3 separate regions of the Homo sapiens genome follow, and all the other regions are linked to region 2. Evidence: promoter capture Hi-C in human tissues and cell types (Jung and others, 2019). All regions are on one chromosome and are shown on one strand. The core of a region is centred on a gene start or on the middle of the fragment in contact, and the rest is flanking DNA. Distances in the headings are between cores, read along the strand shown.

The links. The method cuts DNA at HindIII sites, captures the fragments that hold promoters and counts their contacts. A contact is called where the count stands out against the background at its distance.
Region 1: a contact is called between a fragment that was not itself captured here and the fragment with the promoter of KCNK1 in region 2, in 2 of the 25 tissues and cell types used here (dorsolateral prefrontal cortex and liver).
Region 3: a fragment that was not itself captured here is called in contact with the fragment with the promoter of KCNK1 in region 2 in 2 of the 25 tissues and cell types used here (heart left ventricle and liver).

What each region holds. Positions count from the first base shown.
Region 1 is chr1:233,544,091-233,547,118 of GRCh38, reverse strand. No RefSeq gene overlaps it. Among named protein-coding and RNA genes, the nearest start is that of KCNK1, 69 kb to the left of the region's middle. The HindIII fragment of the contact is 6,746 bases long and covers 1-3,028 here.
Region 2 is chr1:233,612,215-233,615,455 of GRCh38, reverse strand. It overlaps KCNK1 (potassium two pore domain channel subfamily K member 1), which reads right to left and starts at 1,350. Exons shown (of 3, transcript NM_002245.4): 1 at 930-1,350. The coding sequence starts at 1,284. RefSeq lists enhancers at 324-383, 1,572-2,224 and silencers at 854-913, 1,254-1,323, 1,684-1,783. The HindIII fragment of the contact is 20,351 bases long and covers 1-3,241 here.
Region 3 is chr1:233,693,087-233,695,993 of GRCh38, reverse strand. No RefSeq gene overlaps it. Among named protein-coding and RNA genes, the nearest start is that of MIR4427, 70 kb to the right of the region's middle. The HindIII fragment of the contact is 4,410 bases long and covers 1-2,907 here.

The DNA.
Region 1 (3,028 bases), core at 191-2,690, 68 kb after region 2:
TAGAACTCTGGCTTATATAACATCTTCACAAAGAACAATAAATTTTTGAAGAAATTAGAGGACAAAAGAAAGGGATCTTGAAACTTTAGAGGCAGCAAATTGTGGGAAGGCAAATATGGTGGATAAAGGCTGGTTAGTAAAGTTTGTTATGTAAATTCCTCTGGTACTGATTTTCAGGCTAAGAACCTAAGTCATCTCCATTGAGAAACCTTTGTCCTTCTTGGTAGAGGGGAAAGGAGGATGCCTTTACAAATTTAGGTCCTGCTTTTTTAGGTAAATAAGAGCAGAGCAGAGAGTTTTTCTTGTATCTACTTCTCAATTGCCTTCAGCTCAAAATAATCCTTATGCCAAAGTGGCATATTCTGCTTTCAAGTGCTATCATATTGTTTTGATTTAAAAAAAAAAAAACACCTTAAACAACCATACACAAAATATAACAAAAACTTCAACTGGGGTGAGTGACGGCCCATACTGGTCAAATAACTAAATGCAGTCAACATGATATATAAAATTACAAAGTAATATGCAAATGTAAAACATTTTCATTATCTTTAATCTGTTCTCACATATGCCTACTCCTGACATCTTTTTTTTTTTGAGATGGAGTCTTGCTCTGTCACCCAGGCTGGAGTGCAGTGGCGTGATCTTGGCTCACTGCAAACTCCCCTTCTCGGGTTAAGCAATTCTCTGCCTCAGCCTCCCAAGTAGCTTGGATTACAGGCGCCCGCCATCATACGTGGCTGATTTTTGTATTTTTTTATAGAGACAGGGTTTCACGATCTTGGCCACGCCAGTCTTAAACTCCCGACCTCGTGATCCACCCGCCTGACATCTTTTAGAGAGAAGATTTCTACACTGGACTGGCTCTGAAAGAGACTATATACAAGAAATATCGACACTGCCTACTTCCGGTTTTAGGTTTCTGGAATTCCTCCTCACTTATAAAGCTTTTGCCCTTTTAGACATCTGCGATTTCTGCCCACTTTTACAGGGATGGTGTATGTAAGAGTTAGCAAGATGTTCCCTATTCAAGTTCCAAAGGTAAAGGCTCTTTTGCCCCAGGACAGAAGCGAGAGAATCCGAAGAGCATCCTGGGGGTACTGACTAGAAAACAGCTAGTTTAGCCAGTGGAATGGGATAGGGAAGAAGAGAATAGAAATACTATTAGACTTGTTCTTGTAGAAGCAAAATCCTCACTGTTCTACATAACATAGGAATTATGTATTTTTCTAGCCTATAATTCTCAAACATAAATCTGATGTGTTACTTTCACTAAGAACCAGCTTATTTCCTGGTGATCGTCAGCTATATTTACATACACATGAGCAGAATTAGAAAAATATAAAATAATTTGAGACTCAAGTAAGAATAAGATAGCCCATTTTCTCTTATTTGTTCTATAGACAATATATACTATTGTCATTTTCTTTTTATTGCCTTAAATTCAGCTATAACAGGCCAATAGATCAATAAATGTCATTTTCTTATTTGACTAAAATCACAAAGTGAATACAAATTTCAGCCTTCCAGGCACAGAAATATACTAAATATCAAAGCATTAGGCACCCCATAGTATTACAGCAAGATACGATAGTATTACATTCCATTACAAGAAATGATGCTCATTTTTATTCCTTTTCTTATGAACAATTTCCTTTAGAATTTTTTTTTACTTTAAAATTTTAATCTAAGTGAGAATTACTATAAATGAAGCAATGAGATTAACAGCAAAAACCAACCTTACCATGTTCATCTGTCTTAGACACAACTGAAAGGGGCATTAAAGATTGTTGGTCCAGAGCCGGGTGCGGTGGCTCACGCTGGTAATCCCAGCACTTTGGGAGGCAGAGGCGGGCAGATTATCTGAGCTCAGGAGTTCGAGACAAGCCTGGCCAACATGGTGAAACCCCATCTCTACTAAAAATACAAAAATTATCCAGGTGTGGCCATCCATGCCTGTAATTCCAGCTACTCGGGAGGCTGAGGCAGGAGAATCACGTGAATCCAGGAGGCAGAGGTTGCAGTGAGCCAAGGTTACGCCACTGCACTCTAGTCTGGATGACAGAGCAAGAGTTGGTCTAAAAAAAAAACAAAAACAAGATTTTTGGTCCAACCAAAATCAGAAGATGGGAAGCATCATCTGTCAGAGTATCTGATATCCAAAGACAAGGGTATGGCACAAGGTCACACAGGATATTTTTTAGCGGAGCCCTAACTAGAGGTGGGCAAGTGTGAGCTGAGTGTGAGAGGATAGGCAGCCAGAGAGACACAGGTTCGGACAAGTATTTTCAGTGTGTTGCCGATGAAGGGGATGAATGGTAAGGGAGAGGCAGGGAAGATGTGTTATTATTTTTCATCTAAGGGAGGAGTGGTCAACTTAATGGCTGAGAAGAGAAGATGACACAGGGAGGAACCGAAGACTCCAAGCAGCGGCACAGGGAGAAGGAACCAGGAAAACTTGGAGGATGTGAATCAGGAGCAGAGGGAAGGAGTTTTCAACAAAAGTCAGACAGAAGTACCTCTTCCTTAGAACAAAGAGACAAGTACCTTGCTGAGCAGCCTAGAACAAAAGTGAAACCTGAGGGCACACGAAGTCGATACTAAAAATAAAAAATCAGCAGCCAGGTCCAAGGCTGTGGTCCAAAATCAGAGTCACAAGGTATCAGGAGGAGGCTGGGAGCTGCTAGGTGATGCCAAGAGCCCAAGGTGCTCGAAGTCACAGTTTGCATAAGGGCATAAATTAGGGAAAGCCAAAGGCATCAAGGAGTTAGGGACTGGGAAGATAGAAACTCGAACACTGCAAAAGATGAAAGAAGGGTCTAACCAATATGCCAAATAGTGTGTTCCTTGCATGGGACTAGAGTTTTTTGGGGGAGGACCACATTTATGGAGCACTTGTTATATGCCAGAACAAACCTGTGAAGTAAGGACTATGATTATCCCATTTGTACAAATGAGGAAAGTTAAGCACAGGGGGTGTTAAGGCGCTTGTCCCAGCTGATGTTGATAAGCAGTGCTGGAAATGAGA
Region 2 (3,241 bases), core at 101-2,600:
TACTAGGTCCGGCTGGGGAAATTCGGCCTTCATTCATCTGATCTGGCACAGTGACCGAGCCCTGGGGCATGCGCCCGGCCTCATCTTTCACCTGAGGAGGCTCCTCCATGGCCGGGCGCCCCGCGGGTGAGTCGTACGGGGACGTGGCGCTTCGAAGTTTATGGGGAGCCTCGCACACCTCAAGTTGAAGGAACTGCTGAATCAGGGTGCCCCAATTAAGTCAGATCTTAGGCAATCCTATGGTTCCTTTACTCTCCCTCACCCTTCCTCCTACTCTGAAAAGAAACCGGATCGGCCTGTCCGCCCAGAGGTCACCTGGGAAGAGCAGAGTGATGTCACTCGGCTACCCCCAAAACTGCCTCCAAGGTACAAAAGAGCTGGAATATCTGTGCATGGTCCAAAGGGACGGCACACTCCGGAAGGTGACCCTTTAGAAGGTATTATTACCAGACTGCAGCCTCGGCCTCTGGGATGGGTGCGGGAGGAAGGTGGTGAGTTTCCATCATCCCGCTGCCTTGCCGCACGGCGGCCAGGTGCTGCTACACATTCAAACCCGACAGTTTGGCTTAGTGGGTTGCGAAAAAAGAACTCAAGGGGAGGAAGCACCTGCAGCCACCCAGGCCGAAGTTAGGGACCACTTCCCCAGAGTTACGGACGGCAACAACCAAGTCACGTCTGGAGTCACCTCTCTGGCTTCCGGCTCCGCAGGGCTTGCCCTCCCGAGTCACCCAGGCAGAGGCCGGGGACGCCAGTAAGGGGAAGGTCGGAGGGTCGGGAGGACAGTGAGGGGAGGCGGGCTGGAGGAGCCGGGATGGCGAAAGGTGGGGGGTGGGGTGGGAGGGTTAGAGGGGCCCGGGGCGCCGGGGCCGGGGTGTGTGGGTTGTGGGCGAGGTGGCCGGGGCGGCCAGGGGGCGCGCAGGATACCCTACCTGTGGTGGAGAGCACGGTGCTGGCGAAGAAGAGCGCGGAGGTGAAGTCCCAGTTCCAGTTGCCCGAGGCGTTGCTGAGCACCGACACGCCGTAGTTGCTGGCCTCCAGCACCCGGCCCAGGAACTGCTCCAGCTGCTGCTCAGACAGGCACTCGTGCTCCTCCAAGAAGCGTCGCTTCAGCTTGCGCAGCTCCTGGCGCAGCAGGTCCTCATAGGGCAGCTCCACCGAGGAGAAGACCACTGCGCCGAAGACCAGGTAGAGCAAGTAGCCCAGCACCAGGAAGCCGAAGCACCAGGCCGAGCGGTGCCGCTCCACCAGGCGCACGCACGAGCTGCCGGCCAGGGACTGCAGCATCTTCTCCACCGCCGCCGCCAAGGCCAACGCCGCAGACCGGCCGGAGCGCGGCCCGCCGCCTCTTCTGGCCCCGCCGCCCCCGCCCCCGCCCGGGCCTGGCTCCCGCCCGCCGCCCGCTCCCCCGCGCGCCCGCCCGCCCCGCTCCTCCGGGCAGCGCCGTCTTCCTGCGATTGGCTCTCTCGGGCGATGTTTTTCTTCCTTCTTTTCCTGTTTCCTTGCAATATAAAAAGCCCAGATGATGTGGCGCTGACGTGGTTGCCGGCTCAGGTAACCCGAGAGTCAGCGGAGACCGCGCGCAAACTTGGCCAGAGCGCCTGGGCTGGGCTGCCGGGGCCCGGGACGCACCGCCTTCTGCGCACTCCAGAGGTGGGGCGGGCGCTCGGTGGCGCCCAGACCCCGACCCGACAGCCACCAGCTCCTCCCGCTCCCTCCCTTCCTGGGTCCAGTAGCCAAACTCTAGCTGACCGCGCGCGGCGTGTGCGTGTGTGTGTGTGTGTGTTCGCGCGCGTGTAGTGTGGGCCGCTTCTGGTCAATGCGCTGGCCGTCCAAGCCCCCTGTCCAAGCTACTCTTGTTTCCCACTTATTTTCTCCCAATCAAAGCCAGTATTACAAAACAGCAAGCGCTGAAGTACTTTCCTTCTTTGTCTTATTGGTCGAAGGATTGAGCAATCTGGTGCCAGTAATGACGGTGAAAATACCAGAACATCAGAGTTGGAAGGCTCCTTGAATCAGTCTCCTCTCTCCCACCCATCCCCCTCACAAAAAGGACTTGAGGGAAAAGGAGAGTCTCAGAGAAGTCCTATTTCTGAGTTCGAATTTTCTAAAACATGACCTTAGGTTTTTTGGTGAAAAAACATCCCAAATGTGTCAACTGCCAGAAGAAACTGAGCTTTCCCAACTGTCACTTCTTTTTAAAGTGACAAAAATGTGGGCGAGGGTCAGCGAGCCGCCTGCTTGTGGATGAAAATAAAAATTGGTACACCCTTTCTGGAAAGGCAATTTAGCGACACGTCTCAAGAACCTTGAAAGGGTTTATTTGTTCTGATTCAGTGATATGTCCTAAGAAAAAACAATCAGAGAGGCACTTACTTACAAAGACTGGTCATAGACGGTATCTATATATACATACATGTAGTTGTATAATATAGTGCATACACATGTGGGACACACACACACACACACACACACACACGGTATAGATGAAATAATGAAGACTCAGAACAATCTAAATATTCCAAAATAGAGAATGGTTAAATAAGTTATGGCATCTCTACAGCATGGACACCATATAGACATTAAACACATTAAAGTTGTGTCTAAAGACTATTGAAGCAAAACTGTGTAGAATCTCAAATATGTAAAATATTTGTATTTTGTTACAAAATAAAATGACATCTGCATTATTAATCAACTGCATAGGAATAAAACTATCTCCTTGCAGTTGTCTTTGGGTAATAGTAGAGTATATAGATGACTTTCCTTTCTTGTACCTTTTAATATTTTTCAAATTTTCTACAGTGGATATATATTATTTTTGTAATCAGGAAAAACATTTAAAATACACAAAACTGAATTGTACAATTAATCATTCCAACACCTAGCTGAACATTTGCCTACTTTACTGAAGTTCTCTAAACAAGTCATATTTTGTATTTTCATAGAAACTTGTGCAAATGTCTAACATATATATCAGTGATTTTTCACTTTTAGTCAATAGCCTTACCTCCTACGTTACTCAAAAGATTGAAGCCAGCCCTCCACTTTACTTCTCTGTACTTCAAAATTTACTCATCGGTAATCCATTTCTTCCCTTTGCTCTTACCCCTAAGGAAAAAATGTACCTCCTTATTTTCAAGGTGAAAGGAAGCACTTACCACTCTCAGTCCTTCCGCCTCTGGGAACCCTTCCCCATCAGCAAGTGCCCTACTCTTTTAGAACTTGAATTCCTCCTTCTCCC
Region 3 (2,907 bases), core at 75-2,574, 81 kb before region 2:
ACCAGGCATGTTCATAACTGCTCATCAAAACTTTGAATTAGTGGCTGCTTTAACATCCTTCTCAGACAATTCTAACATCTGTTTTGTTGGTGGTGGCATCTATCAATTGTCTTTTTCATTCTGTTTGAGATCTTCCTTGCGTTTGGTATGATTTTTTTAAATATTATGTCATGAAACTGCATCTTATTTAAATCTTCTGTTTTAGTTGGCTATGTCTGACATCACTTCCCCAGGGGAAGGTGTTGTTACTGCTAGTGGAGGGTGAGAATTATGGCTCTCCACTGACATTGTGGTGGGATTGGTCCCATTACCACTGGGCAGGGTTGAAAGTCCTGACTTTCTGCTAGGCCTTCTCTGACTTCATCGCAGCAGGAGGAAAAGATGCCTCTGGAGTTGAAGTCAGGTTGCACTGACACTGTGTGTGTATGGAGGTAGGCTGGGGTGAAAGTGGAGACTCATTACCACATGGTGAGTAGTTTCCAGCTCTCTATTTGGCCTTCTCTGATACCACCCAGACAGGGACATTGGGGATACCTCATTACAGCCTAGTGAGGGTCAAACTCTAGGCTCCCCACTCAGTCTTTGCTATCATGGACACTGTAGGACCATAGTTTTTTCTGTGCTGTTTGCTTGATGTGTCTTCCTTGGACCCTGAGTTCCATAGCTGGTCTGCATTCCTCTCTCCACCTTTAAGACGTCTTCTTATGTTTATTTCATATTTAACATCCAGGGTGGTAATTAGAGGGAAGAATAGAGGGAAAAGTACAGTTGCACTTTGTTGTTCAAAGAGCAGTTTTGAACTGCACAGACCCATTTCTCTGAGCACACCCAGGGATGATTGTACTTGTATAAAATTTTTTTCCTGGATGCAGAATTCTCAATTGACTGTGAAAGTTCATAACAAAGAAAACAGTGGGGAAGACAAATCTGGAAATGAGGAAAATAAAAATTAAATAGTGAGACCACCCATGGAGCTTGTGGCAAAGCCTGAATTGAATCCGCTGTATCTTAAGATTGTGCCTCATTCTAAATTTAAGTCACCCTTCTCATTATGAAAGTGTCACAACTTCTCAGTAGGTGAGGAGACAGTCTAAATTTGAGAAAAGAAAGTTACAACAAAGGTTTTGAGCAAGCTGCTAAGTGGATTTATTCATGTTTGAGAAATCAAATATATGGTTAATGAGCTCTTTAACTAGAAGCCAACACTAGGGAGGAGTAGACAGAAGTCACGGGGAGGGAGCCCCCGGACATTTCAAAAGACTTTGCCCTGCAACATCTCCTCCACATTTAAGCTTTTAGGTTATTGTAGCCACATCACAAGCATGTTACCTACCCAGATATTGTCTGCGCATCATTCCCAAAAGCTTCCCTGGGTCTTCATAATATTAATGAGATTCTCCCCCAGGTTAGACCCCTTTGGCTTGAGTCAGAAACAGAATTAATCCGGGGGACAATCCAGCAGCACCCATCTCTGGGTTGCAGAAATATCTGAGGTGACCAGGCAGTGTTTGGAGTCCCCTCAGTTAGCTAACAAAGTGAGTTCACAGCTTCCAAGACCCCAGGCTTTCCAGGCTAATAAAGAGCTGAGGTTATAGGCTCTCCTTATCAAACGCTCTTTGGCAGCTGCCATAACCATTCCAAGTCTAGTCCTAGAATAGAAATGACGCGGTTTCAGGAGCTGACAGATGGAACTTTAAGCCTTCCTTCCTGCCACATCTGAAGTTCTTTTTTAAAAAAATAGAAAACCATGACAATAAACACTCCTTGAATGCCCTGTGGAAAAGTGTACTCCTCAGAATTCACTAAAGTGGGGTGAAGCAGTGGGTTGTGGTGCTGAGAAAACATCTCTTCCCCTCGGCAGTATATTGGAATCTCATAGAAACTTCTGTGGCTGGGAAGCAAACATGCTCTCTGCCCCATTGCTCTTATTCATCTTTAGACCTGATAATACAGTTTGAACTTCAAGTTGCACTTTAAATGGCATGCATTTTTAGCCAGGCACAGTGGCTCATGCCTGTAATCCCAGCACTTTGGGAGGCCGAGGCAGGCAGATCACTAGGTCAGGAGATCGAGACCATCTTGGCCAACATGGTAAAACCCCGTCTCTACTAAAATACAAAAAATTAGCTGGGCTTGGTGGCACATGCCTGTAATCCCAGCTACTTGGGAGGCTGAGGCAGGGGAATTGCTTGAACTCGGGAGGCAGAGGTTGCAGTGAGCTGAGATCACGCCACTGCACTCCAGCCTGGTGACAAAGCAAGACTCCGTCTCAAAAAAAAAAAAATTAATTAATAAAGGGCATGCATTTTTTAATTTTACCTAAGGAAAGCATCCATTTAAAGAGGCTGAGAGACCTAGTGTAGGAGCACTCAAATGATGTTTTAATTGTATTTTATTGCAATGTATATTGTTGTAAAGAAGTATGAAAGGTAACGAGGTGAGAGAGCTGCTCAGAGAAATAAAATAATGCCTCACTTGAAGAGAACAAAAGGAGACAGCTTTTTCATGCAGTTGGTTGGAAGTAGCTGAATGGAGGATCTAAAAAGTCAGATTCTGTTTCTTCAGCCTGGAGATGGCCACATGGTCAAGGATGCCGAAGGAAAGCAGCTCTCAAGAAAAACGTTGCTTACTCTAAACACGTCGGAACAAGCCAGTATCACACAAGCATTTATCTCTATGGATAAAACTAAATACATATTATGTTTTTTGGAACATTTTTGCCTTTACCCCTGAGATAATGACAATGACTTAGCTCATGGAAAGGTTGTGGGCATTAATTAATTAATTTTGAGGCAGAGTCTCACACTGTCACCCAGGCTGGAGTGCAGTGGCAAGATCTCGGCTCACTGTAACCTCTGCCTCCCGGGTTCCAGCGATTCTTCTACCTCAGCCTCCTGAGTAGCTGGG